3 separate regions of the Homo sapiens genome follow, and all the other regions are linked to region 2. The links are contacts of gene promoters, found by promoter capture Hi-C in blood cells and fetal thymus (Javierre and others, 2016). All regions are on one chromosome and are shown on one strand. Each heading gives the region's core, a stretch centred on a gene start or on the middle of the fragment in contact. The rest is flanking DNA. Distances are from core to core; before and after follow the strand shown. Region 1 has its middle 41 kb from the start of CRNN. Region 2 holds the start of TCHH (trichohyalin). Region 3 has its middle 13 kb from the start of CRNN.

Region 1 (3,948 bases), core at 166-2,665, 340 kb before region 2:
ACTTCTCTGCCCTCGCAGACTCTGGAGTGCCAGTCCCATCGAGTAACTATCTGAAACCCTTTGAGTCTAATTGTCTTCAGATGTGAAATGTAAAAGGACAATGCACACCACATAAGGTTGACATAAGGAATGACTGGCGTAATGGTTGTAAAAAGCCTAGCACTGTGCCTGGCAGATGGCAGTCATTCTGCAAGGTACAGTTGCCCTCTCAGAACCTAGGCATGGTGTACAAGACCAAAGCCCCCAAAGCAACTCATTGTCCTGTCCACCTCTTCCTAAAATGCCATGTTATTGTTGCACCCCCATAGGCACCATTTTGTCAAGTGTGGTCTGGTCCTATTCTCCAAGCACTCTGTATCACACACTCCTGTGATTGCCACAGCATGGGGCAGGGCTGGCCTGGTAACTCCCTAAGGGACTAAGTCCTGCCTCACCAACAGTCTTCTATTCTGTCCTGGGCCCCTGAGATTCTGCCCTTCCACACAACAAGAGTAGTGACTGTGATACCAGAACCACATGACATGTTAAATAAAGAGGCTCTGTAAAGAGGAGCAGAGAGATGTGTGCCCCGGAGGGGAGGGAGGTGGTCAGGCTGGGGGTGAAGAGTGGTGGGACTTGGCCCTAGGAACTCCTGCCCTTTTGTCCTCCTTCCTGCCATACCCTCTCCTGTGTGTTCTTAGCATCTCACCCCCACTCCTCATCTCTCCAGTTCTAAAACAGTCTGTCAAGGCTTCTGGAAGTGGAGAGAGACCCAGGCTGGTTATGGAGGGATTATAAGGAACTGCTAAACACAAAAGACAATGGTCAGCCTCACCCAGACAAAGGCAAATGCCTGTCTTAGTGGGGAGATTGCATGTTCATCCAATTTGAAATTTTAAACAGATGTATAACTCTAAATACTTTAGAATTACAATGTTAGGTTGTGATTTTGAAAAATACCAGAAAAAATGGTATTATGCTAGCAAAAATATAAAGTGGAAATTTCCTCTTCCAATGGGAATGGAGTTACAGGGATGGATTTATCCTGTAACCTGAAACAACTACATAATCTGACAAGCTATAGTTGGCCTTCCTTATACTTGACTTCTACATCCATGGATTCAACCAACCATGGATCAAAAACATTTGAAAAAATACAATAAAAATACAATTTAAAAATACAGTATAACAACCATTTACATAGCATTTACATTATATTAGGTATTATAAGTAATCTAGAGATGTTTTCATGTCTACAGGAGGATGTGCATAGGTTATATGCAAATATCTTGCCATTTTACGTGAGGGATTTGAGCATCTCCAGATTTTGGCATCTTCAAGGGTCTTGGAACAAATCCCTCGTGAATACCAAGGAATGGCTATATAAAAAGAACAATAGTTTTCAAGACCATGAACCTGAAGCAATGCAGGACCATGATGTTTGCAAGATGAAACAAAATGAGCTGAACCCTAGGACTGTCCTGGCCTCCTCCCGGCAAAGGGTTTCCAGGCTGTGACTCAGGGAGCGGAAACTGGCAGAGTCCAGTGGACTCTCAGGATTGAATAAATGGAACTGGATCCTAAAAGACCAAGGCAGCTAGAGTTTTCAAGACAGACTACTAGCCTAGCTGTGGGGAAAAGAAAGAGAGATCAGACTGTTACTGTGTCTATGTAGAAAGAAGTAGACATAAGAGACTCCATTTTGTTGTGTACTAAGAAAAATTCTTCTGCCTTGAGATGCTGTTAATCTGTAACCCTAGCCCCAACCCTGTGCTTGCAGAGACCTGTGATGTGTTAACTCAAGGTTTAATGGATTTAGGGCTATGCAGGATGTGCTTTGTTAAACAAGTGCTTGAAGGCAGTATGCTTGTTAAAAGTCATCACTACTCTCTAATCTCAAGTACCCAGGGACACAATACACTGCGGAAGGCCGCAGGGACCTCTGCCTAGGAAAGCCACATATTGTCCAAGGTTTCTCCCCAAGTGATAGCCTGGGATATGGCCTCATGGGAGGGGAAAGACCTAACCATCCCCCAGCCCAACACCCGTAAAGGGTCTGTGCTGAGGAGGATTAGTAAAAGAGGAAGGCCTCTTTGCAGTTGAGATAACTCTGAGGAAGGCATCTGTCTCCTGCTCATCCCTGGGCAATGGAATGTCTCGGTGTAAAACCCAATTGTATGTTCCATCTACTGAGACAGGAGAAAACCACCTTATGGCTGGAGGTGAGACATGCTGGTGGCAATACTGCTCTTTAATGCACCAAGATGTTTATGTATTGGCACATCAAAGCACAGCACCTTTTTCTTAACCTTGTTTATGACACAGAGACATTTGTCACATGTTTTCCTGCTGACCTTCTCCCCACTATTACCCTATTGTCCTGCCACATCCCCCTCTCTGAGATGGTAGAGATAATGATCAATAAATACTGAGGGAACTCAGAGACCAGTGCCGGCGCGGGTCCTCCGTATACTGAGCGCCCGGTCCCCTGGGCCCACTTTTCTTTCTCTATGCTTTGTCTCTGTGTCTCTTTCTTTTCTCAGTCTCTCGTCCCACCAGACGAGAAACACCCACAGGTGTGGAGGGGCAGGCCACCCCTTCACCTAGCAAGGCAAGAGCTAGAGAGAGAAGGGGGCAGGGGAGCCCTGACAATCAGGAACAGCCTCCCCTCAGATCCTTAGCTGAGTTATGATCAGCACCTGTATGTGAGGAAACTACCTGAGGCAGAGGATGGACCTCCCTGCAGGAATGAAAGCGAATAATCCCAGGATCACCCCGAGTTAGGAAGAACCCCTGTTCCTAACAGCTAGAGTAGAAAACATCATAATTTATTGGATACTGGGTAGAGTACTCAGAAAGGTTTTGCCTCAGTGGTGTAGTAAAATTGGTCCTAAACTAAACACTGCTCTGGTGCCACCCATCATATCTTAAAAAGCAAAATTTGAAGGACCAAACTGTTTCCAAGTAACTTAACTTTTGTTTCTTATTTATAGAAACAAAAATATATCCAGCCATTCAAATGGTAAAATTCACAATGTGTGGTATCCATAAAAAATTACCAGGCATGAAAAGAAGGAAAATATAATACATAATAAAGAGAGGAAGTCCTAACCAGAGCAAGCAGGCAAGAGAAAGAAATAAAAGGCATCCAAATAGGAAGACAGGAGGTCAGACTATCTCTGCAGGTGATATAATTTTATACCTAGAAAATCCCATAGTCACAGCCCAAAAGCTAGATCTGATAAACAACTTCAGCAAAGCTTCTAGATACAAAATCAGTACACAAAAATCAGTAGCATTTCTATACACCAATAATGTCCAAGCTGAATGCCAAATCAAGAACACAAATCCCATTCACAATAGCCACACACACACAAAACAAAGCAAAACAAAAAAACACCTACAAATACAGCTAAACAGAGGTGCAAGACCTCTACAATGAGAGTTAGGAAACACTGCTGAAAGAAATCAGACATGACACAAACAAATGGAAAAACATTTCATGCTCATGGATAGGAAGAATCAATATTGTTAAAATGGCCATACTGCCCAAAGCAATTTACAGATTCAATGCTATTCCTATCAAACTACCAGGGTCAGAATTAGAAAAAAAATTCTAAAATTCATGTAAAACAAAAAAAAAAAAAGCCCAAATAGCCAAAACAATCCTAGGCAGAAAGAAGAAACCTGGAGGAATCATATTATCTGACTTCAAACTGTACTATAAGGCTACAGTAACCAAAACAACATGGTACAGGTAAAAATAGACACATAGACCAAAGGAACAGAATAGAGAGCCCAGAAATAAAGCTACACAGCTACAACTATCTGATCTTCAACCATTTATCTTCAATAAATGGTGCTGGGATAACTGGCTAGCCATATACAGAAGATTGAAACTAGACCCCTTCCTTACACCATATATAAAAATCAACTCAAGATGAATTAAAGACATCAATGTAAAACCTA
Region 2 (4,112 bases), core at 482-2,981:
CTGAACTGAGGTTTCCCAATAGATCACACACAGGAGGATACAAACAAAAGCAGACATAAGGCAGTCCTTGCCCAGGTTATTCCTTGAAGAACACTCATACAAAAGGCTAGTGCCCTCTGTGAGAGAGTGAGCTTCCATGATCACATGATTGCAGTGTGGTCAGTGCTTATGATGGTCCTATCTCAGAATCCAAAGAGTAAGAGAGCTGCATAAAACCCTAAAAAGAAGGGGAAAAATGAGAAGTCTTCACCCTTCACCAAGGAATTGCCACATCAAGTTTGTTAACTGAGCCCAAGAAATAGTGACAGTTCTGACAGTCCTAGGAAAACCACTAAATTGTAGACTTCAGTGTTGAAGTCCTTAAGAGGCAGAAATTAGCATTGCTTATAATTGTCTTCCCATTCCCTGTCACTTCTACCTTCCTCTGTACCCCACATCTAGGATGGCAGCAAGTGAGGGGGCAAATAGAGTTCAACTCCATTATCATTTAGACCAATCTGCACATAAAGAAATAGCCATCAAGATTTAGATTCCAAATTTTCACTCATGCCATTGAAGGACGTTCAGTTGCCTCAAAATTCAGAAAACCAACACTTGCCTCTGTTGGACAAAGGAGGAGACAAAAGTGCAGAGAAGCCATTGAATCATTTAATAGTCTTCATAAATTATGAACCAAAGTTTCATATAGTCTGAAATGTAAGGAAGGAAGTCACTGACAACCATGGATAAAATCCAATTCCTTACAATAAAACAGCACTGAAATTTGCAAATGATCAACCAGATTGAGAAAGCCCTGATGGATATAATGGGCTAGAATGACCAATTACCTCAATGTACTTCCAGGAGAAGCAGACTCAAGTGTTTAGGTGTCATAATCATTAGTAACTTAGGCTGAGCAGGATGATTATATCTACAATAATACATTACACCAGCTCTTTTTCCCCAGGGGCATCAATATGCTAATGAGAAAACTAATGAACAAACTTCATTTAGGTTTAATGTCTCTAAGAATGAAATTTCACAGATTTCAAGTTTTCTTATGAACGGTTTAATAAAAATATATTTCCAAGGTACCCTTCCAAACTTTACTGAGGAGGCAGTCCCCAATCTGTAGGAAAACCATCATAAGACCCGGGAGACAAATGTAAAAATTTTTCCCACCTGCATTTTTAGAGAAGAAACTAACCAATTCTTTACAGCTCTCTCATTGCCCTAGAATTGAAGCAACTGCTTCTGGCAGGGCTTATGAGCAGCTCACCATGGACTGTCACATCCCATGGAGAAATTAATTGGTTTTCATCACTTTATTTCAAAGTTTCTGCTTAATCCCAAACTAGAGATTGTATCTTTTATAAAGCAAATGGCTTAGAGTTTACTCCTTTGTAATGAAGTAATAATCAATTAAGATTGTGAACATTTAATACCTTTGTTTTATTATTTAATTTACTTTTAACAATTTAAGAAAATTGGAGATTCTGCCAAATATTCTACCCTCCCATGTTAGGTGGGGCTGGTACCCTGACTGTCAGGAGGCAAGGTCTGTGAACCTCGTGCCAAATAGCTACGTGAGCAAATAGTGAGATAAACAAGCCATTTGTGGAGACAGAGGTGGAGCTGGGCTTGGTTAGGAATGAATCAGGCCATCCCACAGAGTGGGTGTCTCCTTCCCAAGTTGCTTTCCAGGGCACAATTAAAACCCCTATAAAAGGCCCAGCTCCCAGTTACCCAGTACACTTGCCTGTGGTGTCAGCAAGCACTGTCGACTTCTTCCTCTGGTGAAGTGGGTAAGTCCCATTCTGTGGGATCGTGGTCTTCTTTATGATTCTCCATTTTTATAGCTATTTCAGATGTTGGGATATGGGGGGAGGTTCCATGTGCCAGAAGGTATCAGTATTTTGCAGGGATAAATAAACTATCACTAACTCTATCCCATCTTCTTATGGTTGGAGCCATCACTTGAACTGAAGCATGACCCTTCTCCTTGGGCTCTGAACTCTATACTTCTGCACATCAAGGATGATCATGTGTGGCTCTGATAGGGTTCATCTTCCTAAAAACTGCTATCTCAAAAGTTTGCCAGCCTTCTGTTCTCTTTTACATTGGTTCTACCTAATATGGGCCATCTTCATACAGTCACAGCATTTAAGGTACTGGAGTTGAGAAGTACATAAAGAAGTCAGCTAGATGAACGACTACACTTATCCCACCAGCAAAGCCATTCCATGTATTCTTATAACATTGATCTACTGCTGGCTAATGTTTTATAAAAAGCCAAGATTCCAATGATGCATTTGGGTTTAACAAAACCAATATCATTCACAGTTTTCTGGATTCCGTTTGGTTTAGAAAGGACCTCTCAGAAGCTTTCAATACTTCAATATCCGAATATCTTACTATATCTGAGTTGAGGCAGGTAATATACAGTCTCTGTTTTCTGCATTTGTGTATCTGAATGTTACAATGCCATCTTTTGACTAGGAAGAAGTACTATTTAATCTTAGAATTGCTGACTTACAAATTATATTCTATAAGAGTTCCTAAATCCTTTATGGACTGTAATGTTGAGGAATCATTCATATTCCCTTTTCATTGTTCTATTTTCTACCAACTGTTTTGCTGACATGGCCTCTATCCACTTTAAGATACTCTCAAGTCTTCCTTCACCTTTTGGCTTTTACCTGTCCTCTTCGCTCAACTTTAAAGGAAGGTGTGTAGACATATATAAAATTTTAATTTCTGCACTCTTCTCTTAATTTTCTACTCTGAAATACGGTGGAGAGCTGGAAGAAAGACAGAAGAAAAGGGCATAGATAATCCACATTGGGTGGACAATCAAAAGCTGACAACAGGATAGTCTGAAGATGATTCCCTGGCTTGGAATTTCTCAGGATCGCTCTTTCTCTTTCTGATACAATATTCAAATATTAAAGTGCTCTGAAAGTCCAGGTTGAAATTACCGCTATAAATTCAAATTATTTAGGGATCTGCCTGAAATAGTGTGAATGAAGCCTTCCCAAAAGCAGAAACGGGATTTTGATTCTGGATCTTATTTTATTGTTCTAGGTTTACTTGAACTTGAAGGAAAGAAAAAAAAATGTCTCCACTTCTGAGAAGCATCTGTGACATCACTGAAATTTTCAATCAGTATGTCTCTCATGATTGTGATGGAGCAGCATTAACTAAGAAAGACCTGAAGAACCTCCTTGAAAGGGAATTTGGAGCTGTGCTTCGGGTAAGAACTAACAAGAAAATGAGATCTATTGACTTGAGGCTATGAGATTTATTCTCAGAGGAGACCAGAGCAAGGAATGGTGGTTTTATATTCATTTTACACCACAACAGGTCTACACTACATCCCCCATTCATTTCTGAGTCAAAAGGTACTTACTTGACATTGTAGTCTGAATAATAAAGTATTTCATGTACTTGATGGCATGGCCATGTGAATGAGCTCTTCATGGGACATTACCACAAAAGATGTCAAATCACACTAGACTTGGAGGAACTTAAATTTGTTTCCAAATTTCAAAACTGAGATCAGCCTGATCTCTATTAAAATGGTGCTACCCGTAAATGTTTTGTTCTGTTTTCTAATATGGAATAGAAACCAAATCAAGAATACTGGCTGCTTCAGACAGAAATGGCTACTGCAAATCCTCATAAATTTCTATTGTATCTCTCTCAAGGATGAGTTCATTCTTTCTCAATTAAAGCGAACTTGTGTTATTCTTTCTTGATGTTGAGTAGCTTTGTTAATTTTACACACAAGTTCACGATGCTGTTTTGAATCTTCACCTCAGGCTCTGCCTCTAAGGTGCGTAGGCTTACCTGCTATTCTACTTTGTGTCTCTCTTCCTGCTTCCTTAGGTTTGATCAGCACTAAATTACGAGATGTAAAAATTTCAAACGAATATATGCTTTAAAGTGAGGGTTCACATTTTACATGGGGACAAAACTTGATACACACTGGACATTTTTCTAATTGCTCTGAATGTCTCTTGAATGTCAGCATAGCATAAAATATATCATGTGTGAATATAATTTTACCACCTGTAAATAGTGCATTGTAAAATTTTTGTTTTCACCATTTTTATAGAGACCACATGACCCTA
Region 3 (4,191 bases), core at 238-2,737, 310 kb before region 2:
GGTAAAATAAACTGTATATTGTATACAGAATAATTCCAATATTATATAAAAATATGTGTATATAAGGGCACTATAGTGAAGTTTTTAAAATCTCGGTGGTTGAGAACCTGAGTGGTTGAGTCTGACTCTGACCTTCACTAGCTGTGTGGCCTTGAGCAAGTCACTTAACCCCTATGTGCCTTGTTTCCCTCTCCTAAATAATGATGGTATCCACCTCACTGATGCTGGGAGGATTGAATGAATTAATATCAGGAATGCAGTAATTGATACATGTTAGCTATTGTTAGTATTGTCATTGCTTATCTATGCACATAGAAAAATGGCTGAAAAGATATACAATCTAATGATTGTTCCCAGAGGGCAGTATTATAATCATTTTTATTTTTCCTTTTGATATCTCAATTTTCTTCCATGTACATGTGGTGCTTTTAATAAGAAAAGAAAATTGTGAAATTAAAAATAAAGAAGATTGGAACAGACTTCTTGAGAAGAAAGACAAGAAATAAAAGCCCAGACCAATATATCAAAAGACTGTTAATTTGCTAAGAAATCAGGGGAGAAATCCCTAATTATAAAAAGCCAGGACTATGTTAATGAAATGAGTACCCAGACTGTGATGGTTAATTTTATGTGTCAACTTGGCTAGACTATGATGCCCAGTTTTTGGTCAAACATCAGTCTAGTGTTTCTGTGAAGACATTTTTTAGATGTGATTAACATTTAAATCAGTGGAGTTTGAGTAAATCAGGTCACCCTCTGTAATGTGGGTGGGCCTCATCCAATCAGTCAAAGGCCTTCTGAGAGAAGACTGAGGTTCCCTGAAGAGGAAGGAGTTCTGCCTCCATTCTGCCTTTGGGCTCAAGACTGAAACATCAATTCTTGCTTGAATTTCCAGCCTGCCGGCCTGTCCTGAAAACTTCAGACTTCCCAGTTCCCACAATTGTATGAGCCAATTCCTTAAAATTCCTTCAAATACACTCTCAACACTGTCTCTCTCTTCATATATATCTATGTATATCCTATTGGTTCTGTTTCTCTGAAGAAGCCAGAGTAGTAGACAGACCATGTGAAGAAGCCAGTGAGAATGAGAGAATAGTCTCCAACCTCCAACACAGTGCTCTTCATCTAGAGCCCCAGGGGCAATGATGAGCTAGCCTGTAATTATCGGTGCCTATATCCTCTCTACAGCTTGTAGGGACATATATTATTATGTTAAAAAAAAAAAAGCAATATGGGGCTTGTTAGTGCTTGGAAGTATACAAGACATACTTCCAAGTTACAAAGACATACTTCCAAGTTACAAAGACATACTTCCAAGTATGAACAAAACAAACACATGCGTCCCTTGTGGCAGAGCAGAGCTGGCCCTTCCCCAGATGACACACCTCAGGGACTTCACCTTATACCTTGCAGTGTTCTGTATTTGGTTTTCCATGTGAGGCAGCAACGGGTTCAAAGAGAGACCATCTGAGCACAAGTGATGGGCGTGGCACATCCAGGGAGATCAAGAACCAGGCCAGATGCAGAGACCTGACCTGTGAGCCAAGTCTGGGCACCTGAATCTAGAAGGCAGTGAGCACACCCTTCCCCAGTTAGGACTTCATCCACAGTAAAACTGATGAGCTTCTTTCAATTTAGATCTTAGGAACTGACAGCAAAAATAATTAAAAGTGACAGAACCCACACCATTGTATAAATTATTTGATAGAAATATTAGCTTAAGAAAAATTGTATTCACAATAGATTTCAAAATAATTTACAAAGTGTTTATGGGTTTGACATGAATCCCACCCACCTCACTGGGGAATTGGTAAATCATGTAAGTGTGGTCCTCTCTGGATTTGCTTCTTGTGTGATTCTGATTCTGTGTCAACTGTTGTCAACATATGCCCAAATATTCATAGCTTTGTGCCATAGCTTTTACAGAAGTGGCAGAGACTTTTCTGTTCTTTCCATTTGCAGTCAAAATTTCAGAATTTTCATCAAATACTCTGTTCCTACTTTGCAACTGAACAGAGAAGTTCATGTTGAAACTTAAGTAGATTTATCTTTTATAGGTGAAAACACACTTTATTATTCAGCCATGTTACATTACAAAACCTCCCTCATGAGTCATAGGAGCCTCTGGGTTTTCTGTCTAACCATATCAAGTCTTCTTGTATAAGGACTTTTAGCCAACTCTGAAGAGCTGGTTATCTTTTACCATCACTGCTCTTGTCTCCATCTTCATGATTGGCATCATATATCTATTGTCTACTGAGAGCCTACTGTCATCAGTCACCAGGAAAACCTTTCAAGATTCACCAGTTTATTTAATCTATACACAATACATGAAGGAAAAGGTATTATATAACCTCCATTTTCAGAGAAGACCCCAAAGCTCAGAGAAGTTAAAGGATGTGTCCTAAGTCACTGAGTTCATAAGGGGAGGAGCCAGACTATATCCTGAGCTCAGTTGGCCTGCAAAGTCCTCAGTTTCCATTGGAATAACAACAACAAAAGTCATACCTGGCCAAGGACAGGCCAAGAGTATAACAATTTAGAAGCAAAGAAGGAGGCTCTAAGTTCTTGGAGGCTCCGAGTCCCTTTCTAAAGGGTTGAAATAGGCTATCATGTGTGATACTACATGGTGTTTCAGGGCACCACACTCCTGCATCAGAGAGCTGCTTCTGAAGTCTTGCCCTTCTGTGGGGCCACCCTAACCCATGCCCATAGTCCTCAAAGTCCTCGTTCCTGCCCTGCTGAGAGGGCTGTGGAAGAGGCCCTCACATTGAAAAAAACACTTTACCTACCGCTTATGGGCATTCATGCTCCCCACCTTACCCCAAATCCACCATGGAGGCAAATTTGCATAGGAAGAAGCCCACTGAGCCAGGAATAAAAAAAAACAGCTCCAGTTCCATTGATGTAGGGCAAGTTCTTGGCTTCACTCAGGAAAAAATTCAAAGTCAGCCAGTGGTGGAAGAAAGCAGCTTTACTGTGGTGGCAACAGTGTTACAGCTCCCTGACTGCTCCTGTGGAGGGCTACCCCATTGCCAGTGCACCCAGAGTAGCAACAGGGTGTGGGTTGCAGTCATATTTATACCCACTTTTAATGACATGCTAATTAAGGGGTGGGTTATTCAGAAATAGCTAGAAAATGGGTGGTAACCTCTCAGTGTTGCCCTGGAAGGGGGTATTAACTTCTAGGTGTTGTCACACTATTGGTAAACTGTCATGGCACTGGTGGGAGTGTCTCATGGTGATGGGCAGCAAGAGCAATGGGAGATGCTCAGTGTCTCTTCTCTGTTTTAGCCAGTCTCCAGTCTGGTCCAGAGACAAGTCCTGCCTGCCTCTTACCTCATTATCTCCCTGCACAGTTGTCAGTGTGACTTTGGACATGTCATTTCACCTCTTTGAAACTCAAGTTCCGCCTGTGAAATATGGGAAGAAGAAGAAGAACTTTTCAGGGTATGAGAAGTAAAGGTGTCATGTGCGGGAGTCACCTCAGCACCATGGTGGGCACGCAGTCTTTTTTTTTTTTTTTTGAGACGGAGTTTCACTCTTGTGCAATGGCACAGTCTCTGCTCATTGCAACCTCTGCCTCCCGGGTTCAGCTGATTCTCCTGCTTCAGCCTACCAAGTAGCTGAGATTACAGGCATCTGCCACCTCGCTCGGCTAATTTTTTTGTATTTTATAAGTAGAGATGGGGTTTTACCATGTTGGCCAGGCTGGTCTTGAACTCCTGACCTCAGGTGATCTGCCTGCCTCGGCCTCCCAAAGTGCTGGGATTACAGGTGTGAGCCACCATGCCCAGCCTGGCACATAATCTTTGCACCATCCACAGCTGCTGAGCCTCAAGCCAAGCCTCCATCTCTTCATCAGTAAATGAACTGACTGTGTAGGACTAACAGTCTCATCCAGACCTTGTTGGACTCCTCAGCACCTCCTCTGCAGTGTCCCCTAATGCTCCTTGTCAGGACATCCATTTCACCTGAATTTTGCTAAGCCTGGAGTGAAGCTTTAGCTGATGGATCTTGGCCTCTGTGAGCCAGGCACTGTCACCATCCAGACTTCCAGGCCTTGCTTGCAACCAGCTCCTTTTGGTAGTCAGTGTCTCAGACCTAGTTGTCAAGCCCACCCTGGAGAAAAGTGACTTGTGTCTTGGCCACTGCTGCCACTTCACAAGCCTATGTCTGAAAAGTAATAGT

What was found. Contacts are between HindIII fragments. The CHiCAGO score rates a contact against its expected background, and 5 or more counts as called.
Region 1: a contact is called between a fragment that was not itself captured here and the fragment with the promoter of TCHH in region 2, in 12 of 17 cell types (M0 macrophages, M2 macrophages, naive CD8 T cells and 9 more). The highest score is 10.3, in M0 macrophages.
Region 3: a fragment that was not itself captured here is called in contact with the fragment with the promoter of TCHH in region 2 in 1 of 17 cell types (total CD4 T cells); the score reaches 5.8 in total CD4 T cells.

What each region holds. Positions count from the first base shown.
Region 1 is chr1:152,453,742-152,457,689 of GRCh38, reverse strand. No RefSeq gene overlaps it. Among named protein-coding and RNA genes, the nearest start is that of CRNN, 41 kb to the right of the region's middle. The HindIII fragment of the contact is 3,652 bases long and covers 1-3,241 here.
Region 2 is chr1:152,113,063-152,117,174 of GRCh38, reverse strand. It overlaps TCHH (trichohyalin), which reads left to right and starts at 1,731. Exons shown (of 3, transcript NM_007113.4): 1 at 1,731-1,784; 2 at 3,064-3,232; 3 at 4,097-4,112. The coding sequence starts at 3,095. The HindIII fragment of the contact is 15,075 bases long and covers 1-2,365 here.
Region 3 is chr1:152,424,861-152,429,051 of GRCh38, reverse strand. No RefSeq gene overlaps it. Among named protein-coding and RNA genes, the nearest start is that of CRNN, 13 kb to the right of the region's middle. The HindIII fragment of the contact is 5,033 bases long and covers 1-4,003 here.